Linked DNA regions of Homo sapiens: region 1 is linked to region 2. The links are contacts of gene promoters, found by promoter capture Hi-C in human tissues and cell types (Jung and others, 2019). All regions are on one chromosome and are shown on one strand. Each heading gives the region's core, a stretch centred on a gene start or on the middle of the fragment in contact. The rest is flanking DNA. Distances are from core to core; before and after follow the strand shown. Region 1 has its middle 41 kb from the start of CTPS1. Region 2 holds the start of SLFNL1 (schlafen like 1).

Evidence for each region. Contacts are between HindIII fragments. The study calls those that stand out against the background at their distance.
Region 1: a contact is called between a fragment that was not itself captured here and the fragment with the promoter of SLFNL1 in region 2, in 3 of the 25 tissues and cell types used here (aorta, hippocampus and mesenchymal stem cells).

What each region holds. Positions count from the first base shown.
Region 1 is chr1:40,935,970-40,940,890 of GRCh38, reverse strand. It overlaps the pseudogene LOC100128362. Among named protein-coding and RNA genes, the nearest start is that of CTPS1, 41 kb to the left of the region's middle. The HindIII fragment of the contact is 6,881 bases long and covers 1-4,921 here.
Region 2 is chr1:41,018,539-41,023,771 of GRCh38, reverse strand. SLFNL1 (schlafen like 1) reads left to right here and starts at 2,047. Exons shown (of 6, transcript NM_144990.4): 1 at 2,047-2,149; 2 at 2,902-2,908; 3 at 2,994-3,546. The coding sequence starts at 3,112. The region is part of intron 1 of SLFNL1-AS1 (SLFNL1 antisense RNA 1); the gene reads right to left. The HindIII fragment of the contact is 20,466 bases long and covers 1-5,233 here.

The DNA of each region.
Region 1 (4,921 bases), core at 1,983-4,482, 84 kb after region 2:
GGGTCTTACTTTGTCACCCAGGCTGGAGCACATTGGCACAATCACAGCTCACTTCAGCCTCGAACTTCCGGGTTCAAACAATCCTTCCATCTCAGCCTCACACGTAGCTAGGAATATAGGCTCATGCCAACACACCCAACTAATTTGTTATTACTTTTTGTAGAGACAGGGTCTCCCTATGTTGCCCAGGCTGGTCTTGAACTCCTGGGCTCAAGCCACCCTCCTGCCTCAGCCTCCTAAAGTGTTAGGGTTACAGGCATAAGCCACCATGCTGGCCCTGGACCTGTTATGAATGTGCCATTGCCCAGGCGTGGTGGCCCATGCCTGTAATCCCAGCACTTTGGGAGGCCGAGGCAGGCAGATCACTTGAGGTCAGGAGCTTGAGAACAGCCTGGCCAACGTAGTGAAACCCCATCACTACTAAAAATACAAAAAAAAATTAGCTGGACGTGGTGGCGTGCACCTGTAATCCCAGCTACTCGGGAGGCTGAGGCAGGAGAATCACTTGAACCCAGGAGGCGGAGGTTGCAGTGAGCTGAGATCGCACCACTGCACTCCAGCCTGGGTGACAGTAAAATACTCTGTCTAAAAAAAAAAAAAAAAAAAAAGAATGTACCATAAACCAAGGATTATAATCATCTAATTTCATGGGCCTGGGATACCCCTGAAAAACAATTAGCAAAGATATTAAATGTGAATTTGTAAATACTTCCAAATAAAATCTTTTCAAAAGTTTTATTTAGAGATCTGAGCTTCCTTCTGTGCACATCAATTTTTAGATTTTTTGTCTGAAACAGCTACACAAAATTCCTGCGCAAAATTTTAAAATGAAATTGAAATTTTAATGGAAGACTCTAACAGTACTTGCTTTTCTGGCATGAATGAATGAAATTGCTTGCAATGATGTAAGTGGACTTTGAACTCAATTGAACTTTGTTGTTTCAAGTATTTCGAAATACTCACGATTTCAGAGAACCAAGCTCTGGAGCCAGAGTGAGTAGGGAAGAGACACAGTAGTTGTTGGCCGAGCACTGTGGAGAGTCTGTGGGCCAGCAGCAGCACCAAGCAACTGTCAGTGGCCACAGATGCATGTGGCCCGTGTGCAGCAGCCAGCTCGGGCAGGTGGCATCATGGATGAGGTGTTCTCCAAGGAGCTGGACCAGTGGATCAAGCAGCTGAACCAGAGAAAGTAGCTATCCAAGTCCCAGGTCAAGAGCCTCTGCAAGGAGGCTAAAGAAATCCTGACAGAAGAATCCAATGCACAAGAGGTTTGGTGTCCAGTCACTGTCTCTGGAGATAAGCATGGGCAATTTCATGTTCTCATGGAACTGTTTAGAAAATTACCAGATGGCCGGGCGTGATGGGTCACGCCTGTAATCCTAGCACTTTGGGAGGCTGAGGCGGGCGGATCATTTGGGGTCAGGAGTTGGAGACCAGCCTGGCCAACATGGTGAAACCCTGCCTCTATTAAAAATACAAAAATTAGCTTCCCAGCTACTCAGGAGGCTGAGGCAGGAGAATCACTTGAACCTGGGAGGCGGAGGTTGCAGTGAGCTGAGAGCGTGCCACTGCACTCCACCCTGGGTGATAGAGTGAGATCTCCATCTCAAAAAAAAAAAAAAAACCAAAACAAAAATAGAAAATTACCAGATACAGATACAGGCTGGATGTGGTGGCTCACACCTGTAATCCTAGCATTTTCAGAGGCCAAGGCAGATGGATTGCTTGAGTCCTGGAGTTCAAGACCAGCCTGGGCAATATAGCGAGATCCTGTCTCAAAAAAAAATTAATAGAAAATTACCAGATACAAATTACTTGTTTACAGGAGATTATATTGACAGAGGATATTATTCAATTGAAATAGTTATGCTGCTCCTAGCTGTTAAGGTTTCTTACCATGAATGCGTCACCATTCTTCCAAGGAATCATGAGAGCAGGCAGATCACACAAGTTTATCATTCCTATGAAGAGTGTTTAAGAAAACATGGAAATGCAAATGTTTAGAAATATTTTCCAGATTTTTTTTTTCAAAGACTGGGCCACCCAGATTGGAGTCCAAGGGCACAAAGATGGCTCACTGCAGCTTCAATCTCCCTGGCCCAAGTGAGCCTCCTACTTCAGCCTCCCAGGTAGCTGGGACTACAGGCGTGCACCATCATGCCCGGCTAATTTTTTGTATTTTTTTGTAGAGATGAGTTTTTCACCATGTTGCTTAGGCTGGTCTTGAACTCCTGGGCATAAGTGATCCACCTGCTTTGGTCTCCCAAAGCGCTGGGATTACAGGCATGAGCCGCCATGCCCGGCCTTTACAGGCCATCTTCCTCTCACTGCCTTGGGGGATGGGCAGCTCTTCTGTCTCCATGGTGGCCTGTCGCCATCTGTAGATACACTGCATCACATCAGAACACTGAATTGCCTACAGAAAATTCCCCATGAGGGTCCAATGGGTGACTTGCTATACTCAGATCCAGATGACCATGGTGGCTGGGGTATATCTCTTTGAGGAGATGGTTACACCTTTGGGCAAGATACTCCTGAGACATTTAATCATGCCAGTGGCCTCAGGTTGGTGTCTAGAGCTCACCAGCTGGTGATGGTGGGACATAACTGGTGTCATGACTGGAATGTAGTAGCCATCTTCAGTACTCCAAACTATTGCTATCATTGTGGTAATCACACTGCAATCATGGAACTTGATAATACTCTAAAATACTCTTTTTTTGCAGTATGACCCAGCACCTCACAGAGGCAAGCCACATGTTACTCATTGTACCCCAGATTACTTCCTGTAATGAAATTTTAAGCTGGGCATGGTGGCTCACGCCTGTAATCCCAGCACTTTGGGAGGCCAAGGCGGGAGAATCACCTGAGGTCAGGAGTTCAAGACCAGCCTGGCCAACATGGTGAAACTAAAATATAAAATACACTAAAATCTACTAAAAATACAAAATACACTAAAATCTACTAAAAACACAAAATTAGCCGGGCATGGTGACATGCGCCTGTAATCCTAGCTACTGGGGAGGCTGAGGCAGGAGAATCGCGTGAACCCAGGAGGCGGAGGTTGCAGTGAGCCGAGATCGTGCCATTGCACTCCAGCCTGGGAGACAAGACCAAAAATCCATCTCAAAAAAAAGAAAAAGAAAAAGAAAAAGAATTTTAAATTTGAACAGGATTGCCATGAATTGTATATTGACTTAATGGAAATGGGGACAGCAACAGTAACTCCAAAGTGTCAGAAAATAGTTAACATTCAAAAAATTTGTTTTCACATGGACTAAAAGCTGTGCCATATAAAAATACAAAGCTTTTTGTCACCAAGCCGTGATCACTTTAGAATAAACCAGTTCATTGTATGCTGGAGCAACATGGTGTTTGCAGTTACTTTTGCTTTCTTTGAGAGACCGCAGATAATAAGATGTAAATTCACTTTGTGAATACAATTTAACCTCCATCTAGCTATAGCTTTACTCAGCATGACTGTACATAGGGGTAGCAGAAAACAATCACTGGATCACTGGAACTTAATGAAATTAAAAAAAATAAATGCCAAGCCCTCCCCTCTACTTAAGGGTTTTGAAATCGTTCTGTTTATTTTCAGGGATACCATTTAATTTAATTATAAGACTTGCCTCCACTCAGTTTGTCGCCTTCTCAAATCTGAGCCACATGCCATTCTTCGTTATTGTCAGAACCTAGTGAGTGGTTTTGAACAGAGCTGTTTTTGCCCCTTCCTGTAAAGTGATGTTTTATTGCACAAGAGCACTGCAGAGTTTTCATAATAAACTTGCGAGCTCAGAAAAAATTACTCATGAAGCTCTTATTTGCAGTGTTTGTTATTAAAGCAGGCACCCTAAAGAGTATAGCCAGCAGGGACAGATCCAGGTTTTGTGAAAGCCTGAGGTTTATATAAGTGTGTGTGTGTCTGTGCGTGTGTGTGTGTGTGTGTGTGTGTGTTTGTATGGTGAGGAGGGCTCTTTATGAAAAAGACTGCAAAATTCTAAGTACAAAATTAGGTACTACAGGAGATTGCATTACTGGACCCAATACTTCCCCCCTCCTTGGGTCTACATCTTTGCCATATGACTTTGCAGTTTGGGCCACTAAAGTGTCAGAGTGTATTTCTACTCTTCTTGACTCTGGCCTTGGCCATGTAACTTGCATTGGCCAATGGGATTGAGTGGAAGTGACAGCATGTTACTTCTGAGTCTGGGTCTTTCTTCTTTGTACCTTGTCTTCAACATGAGGGCATTCACTGGTTAGCACAGTGGTCCCAGGAGGAAGATGAGGGATACAGGGAGCAAAGCCATCCAGCTGACCCAGCTTAGATAACCTAGCTCACAGCTGCTGTGGCCTAAAGCATCCCAGCTGATCTGCAGATCTATGCCAATAAATACTTGTAAGCCGCTGAGTTTGGGGACCATATGTTACACAGCAGTACTCTACCAGTAGCTAACAAATGCAGGTATAAACATGAAGGTTTATTTGTAATGAGAAAATAAATCACAACAGATAAGATTTTAGCAGCTGACAAATAGCTCAAAAGTCACAGAATCCAGAAAAATACATAAATTTTCATTAATTGCCATCTGACATACCTCTATAATATCCTATATGTTGGCTACATTTTCTTTGGTTGCCTCTCCAATATAACAACTTAAATTTTTTTTTTTTTTTGTAATTTTGTGTTTCTACAGAGAGGAGGGAGAGAGGATTCTCTCTTTCTTCTGAAATGGTTTATTGAAAAATACTTTTTAATTGGTAATTTAGTAAAGTTTCGTCTAGCATCATAACTGACTTTAGGTCATGTTGTTTCAATTATTAAGATTGTTGCCAAAGTTGTGAAAACCTCCATCAAGTTTCTTTCAGGACATTTTCAATTTTCTTGTACAATTAATTGTAAATCTTCTTTTAATTGATT
Region 2 (5,233 bases), core at 798-3,297:
TACTCTGCAGTAACTGGGGCTGGGCCCTGTCAGAGCCAGGTGGGGATCTACAGGCTGGAGGCAGCACGCTAGGGGAGGGCTTGAGACCAAGGGAGGCTGGAGTGATGTGGGTCCCAGGACCTGGAAAGCTATGTTTGTAACTCTGCTCCCCAGAGTTCGCTCTTCTTGATCATCCTTGTTCTCTCCTGCACCTGGCTGGGCTCATTCCTCTTCCCTATCCCTCTGCCCCTTGACTGGCCTTCCTGGGCAAACAGCAGATTGTGAAGTGGGAGCTGTGGGGAAGAGGGGATGGCATGCCTGCTGTGGGTTCAGGGATTGTGGCCATGTGGGCCACCCAGTGGACACTGTCCAGATAACATGAAAAGAGGCCATCCACAGCGGCTCAGCTCTCTGCCCCTCATCTTTGGGCCCCACCTCACATTCATAAAGAGGCTTAAATTCTAGGGTTTTTTCCTTCAGTTCAAGATGAGGTTTGTCAGTGAGGTCACAGACATCCAGCAAGAGGGTTAACGGGGCTGCTTATCCCCCCACTGGGAACCCACCACTCCAAGCTGCCTGCAGAGCACCTATACTTTCTAATACTATTACCTAATACTAGAGAGCCAGAGACACCGTAAATAACCTTGTTATCTTATATTTATGTATTTAAAAGATGGTTCATAAATGTGTTTAGTGCTTACCATGAAAGACAATTTTTACCCCCATCTCCAAAAAGAAGTAGAACTGATTCAGCTCACAGAAGGCTGTTAAAGGCGCCAGAGAAATATGTGATGCAGTGGCTTAAAGAGACTGCCAGGAAGAGTGGGGAAAGTTGCTGCACTCAAGTCAATTTGGGAAATTTCATGCAGAACAGCCACCCAATAGCAAGGCCTCTAGGTAAGTAGGGAGAACGCCTCTGGTCATGTTCAGGTGTTTCGTCTGTCAAGGTGCTTCTCCCGGACAGCTATTTCTGCACAGTTCAACACGACTTGAGTTGGCCATCTCAAAACAGCTATAGCCTCAGTTGCTGTGAGGGCACCTCATGGATGACAGAGGCAAGAAAGGCTTGAGGGAGAGGGGGTGAGGCAGGGGGAGCTTGGAGCCGTCATTCTCTAACCCTAAGAGCTGTGGACACAAAGCCGAGCCCAACCTGGCTGCTGCCCGGGCGGGCAAGGAGAGGGCACCGAATGCACTCTCCCCAGAGCCTCGCACTGCCACCAGTTGAGGCCTGCGCCCCTCTCTTCCCCGCACACCATAGCCTCTTTTCTTGAGTGCTCTACCCAAACTACTGCCTCACCCCCTAGGAAACAAACATTTGGTAACATCTTCAGAAAGGCTGCTTTCAAGGAAGGCAGCTTCTCTACGCTGTCAAACAGCTTTCTTAGTTGAAGCATCTAACTGTGGCACCATCCTTACTGCCCCCAATTGGGGCTTCCAGAAGCAGTGTGGGCAAGCGCTGCCAGCCTTCTGCAGAATGATGAGCACTGGTCAGTCCTGTGCTGATAAAGACTGTGTGTCACCCACGTCTTGGTTTCTCCAACAGCAGGTAACAACCTCATCTTCCCAAAGAGATAGATAGCTACGCCTGACCTATTTTTCAGGGCTCTTCTGGACAGCAGCCTCTGTCTCCAGCACAGAGAAGGGCCTGGCGTCAGGGGGAGCCCTGGAGCCTACCATGTGCCTCCTGCTCCATCTTGGGAGCAGCTGGGCCCTGTCAGTACTCAGTAGAGCCTGGGATTGGTGACTGACTAAAGAGGGAGGTGGAGGCTTTAGGCAGCAGCGCTGAAAGAGGTGGCAAGAGGTGACCTGCATGGGAACTGGGGCCTGAAGAGACATCACTAAGTGGGGAAGTGTGTCCCACAGCCAAGCTGCATGGTGGGTGGGCCGCTGGGTCTGCTTCCAGTGTGTGGTGGGACCCACAGGGAGCTGAGTTTTCCTGTTTGATTTCCCGCACCCAGCCTGCCTGTGGCTGGCCAAGAAGGCATTGTTGAACCTCATGAGATCACAGAGGTAGCTGTGCAGGCCCCGCCCACTTCCTATAACCCTGGTTCTGGCCGTCCCTGTGCCAAGCCTCCAAGTTCCCTGAGAGCTACCGGCCAGGGGTCGGGAGGCTATGGGAGCTCAGGGCAGGCACCTCCCATGCTCCCGCGGGAGCCACCAGGACATGAAGGTCATAGGCCTCTCCTCTCCTCCTCTTCCTGTTTGACCTGAATGCCCCCAGGCCAACTGCCTCAAGGATTCCATTTGAGAAGATGCAGGCTGGGTGTGTGGGGAGCAGTAGAGGGGCTGGTGTGTGCACATATGTGCACAGCTCAGGACAGAGGCTCCCTGGACTTGGGGCGGGGGCACTAGGGCCCCAACTCTAACCCTCGTTCTGCCCTGTTGACCTCTGCTCTCTGGACCAAAAATGGAGGACTCAGTCTAGACTAGTTCTTAGGGTCTAGGAGCCACCTTAAGTTATGTTTATATGCAAAGGCCATTTTTCTGAGAGGCCATAGCTTTCATCAGTGTGCCAAAAAGCGTGAGATCCTCTGCTCTAAAAGCCTCTGCCCCAGCGCTGCCTAGTTTCAGAGCCCCCGATGGCCTCACATGGGGTTTTAGAGCAGGCAGAGAAGCTGCAATGGGGCCACCAGCCAGTCCTCAGAGTCCTGGGTTAAGGCCTCCTCTCCAGGAGGCCCTGTGTAAAGGTTTTCTCTGTTGCCTGGAGGCAGGAGTGAACTGGTAGGCAGGAAACCCTGAGGGTACCTAGGAGGCCCCTAGCCTGTGGGTTGGGGAGGGAAGACAGGACCCCTGGGGCCACTGAAATGGTGGAGCTCTCAGAGACCTGAGTTCTGGTCCCTTCTGCCACTTTTTGGGCAGATCCCGTCTTCCCACAGGCCCTGTGTCTTGCTCAGTCCACGTGACTCTGCTTTCTCATCCTAGGCCTCAGGTGGGTGGCAGGCCCTTTCCTGCTTGCCCTCTGCCCTCCCTCTCTCTGGCCCTGCCCAGTCTCTGCCAATCTGTGTACCTCCCAGGAGCCGGGACACTCCCTGAGTCCTCTGGGAGCCCTTAAGCCACACTGAGAACACAGACCCTGGGAGAAGCAGCCAGCAGTGAGGAATCCTGGAACCCCTTCCCAGGGAGAGCCTTCCCATGACCCCCATGAAGAGATCAGTGCAAACACAGGTGTCAGAGCCCTTCATGGAGTCCTGGGGTGAGGAGTCCCTGCCGGAGCTACCCGCAGAGCAGTCCCTGACGGAGTACTCTGACCTCGAGGAGGCTCCCTCGGCGCACACTCTCTATGTGGGCCATCTGAACCCCCAGTTCTCAGTGCCGGTGCTTGCCTGCCTGCTGCGAGACACCCTGGAGCGGCTGGAGATGCCGGTGGCGCGGGAGCACATTGAAGTGGTGAGGCGGCCGCGGAAGGCCTATGCACTGGTGCAGGTGACTGTCCACAGGGACACCCTGGCCTCCCTCCCCTGGCGCCTGCAGACGGCCCTGGAGGAGCACCTAATCCTCAAGGAGCTGGCAGCCCGTGGGAAGGACCTGCTATTGAGTGAGGCCCAAGGGCCCTTCAGCCACAGAGAGGTAAGTGGGACTTTTCCCAAGCAAGCTCCAAAGCCTCACCCCAAGGGAGAGCCTCTGAGTGGGAGTGGCCTGCAGAGTGGGGATGGAGGGGTGTCTCTGGGGAAGCAGGGACAAATCTGCAAACTTGGGGGCTGCCACTCAAATGACCATGGCTTGCGGCTGGTACTGCCAGCTTTCTCTGGGAAAAACAGTTTGCCTCAAGCTCAAGCCCGACGTTTGTGTGAAGAAAGGCCACGAGGGGACCTCCTCTCCTTAGGTCCTTTTACATTCCAGCCTCTGGGCCTGGGAGACCCTAGAAGACACAGGGGCCCCGATTTTCTCCTTGGCCCAACTCATTTGTTCAATTGACAAACATGAACACCCCCTCTGTGCCAAGAGTAAGGCAGGGATGAGAGGCCCAGCCAGGCCCCCAGGAAGCCCTGCATCTGTGGCCAGAGCTGGACAGCCACCCACCGAGCTGCAAGGTGGCTGCGCTCAGAGCTGTGAGAGAAGACAGGAAGGTTTGCCCTGCTCTCTGGGGACAGATTAACAGGGGAAGTGAAATCCAGGCCGGGACTTAGGGAGTTGGACAGGCACTTGCAAGGGAGGACATTCCAGGCAAGGGACACAGAATATGCAGAGGAACCTGGGGGCTTAGAGGGAGTGTCATGTCTGCAGAAGGGCAAACCATTTGGTGTCCCTGGAGCTCCCACTAAAGGCTGCAGGGGGTGCTAAGGAAGGAAGTTGGGCCAGAAGGTAGGGTAGGGGCCAGGTCACCAAGGCTATCATCCAAGGCAAGGCTGAACTGCTGGCTTTATTGGGTGGGACATGGGACGTTAGGATAGGTCACTCCATGAGACAGGTGATTTTGGTTTCTTTTGGTGTGAAAATGATGGTGTTTAAACTGTTGCAGAACTAAAAGGCTCTGTGGCTTACATTTCAACTCAATTTCACATTTGTATGAAGTTTATCCTGTTTCTAAGACTGATAAATTCATCTTCTCTGGGGAGCTGCAGGGCTGGTAGGGAGGTGCCTCAGTCTCCTCACCCCAACCCACGCTCATGAAAGAATTGTGAGGAGTAACAATCTGCCTTGAAGTTAGCGTCACTAAGGAGGGTTGGCTGGGCGCGGTGGCTCACGCTTGTAATCCCAGCACTTTGGGAGGCTGAGGCGGGCAGATCACGAGGTCAGGAGATCGAGACCATGGTGAAACCCCGTCTCTACTAAAAATACAAAAAAATTAGCCGGGCGTGGTGGCGGGCCCCTGTAATCCCAGCTACTCGGGAGGCTGAGGCAGGAGAATGGCTTGAACCCGGAAGGCGGAGCTTGCAGTGAGCCGAGATCACGCCACTGCACTCCATCCAGCCTGGGTGACAGGGCGAGACTCTGTCTCAAAAAAAAAAAAAAAAAAAAAAAAACAGGAGGGTTGACATGAAAGGGTGAGCCTGGAAGCAGGGAGGTCAGGGAGGGGCTCGCTGGGGAGGCCCAGACTAGGAAGTGGCCCCGAGGAGGCTCACACCAAGCCCTCGAGCAGAGCCCAAACCATGAAAGGAGATTCAGGAGGCGCAGAAGAAAGTGGGGATTAGGGCGGACTTGTCAATAGCCCAGCAAGTAGTGGGCAAAGGTTTGAAATCAGGAAGTGGGTGGGGTACCTGGGAGTCCCTCTCCATTCAGGGTACTGCAGCTCTGTCACAGGGTGCTGAGATAC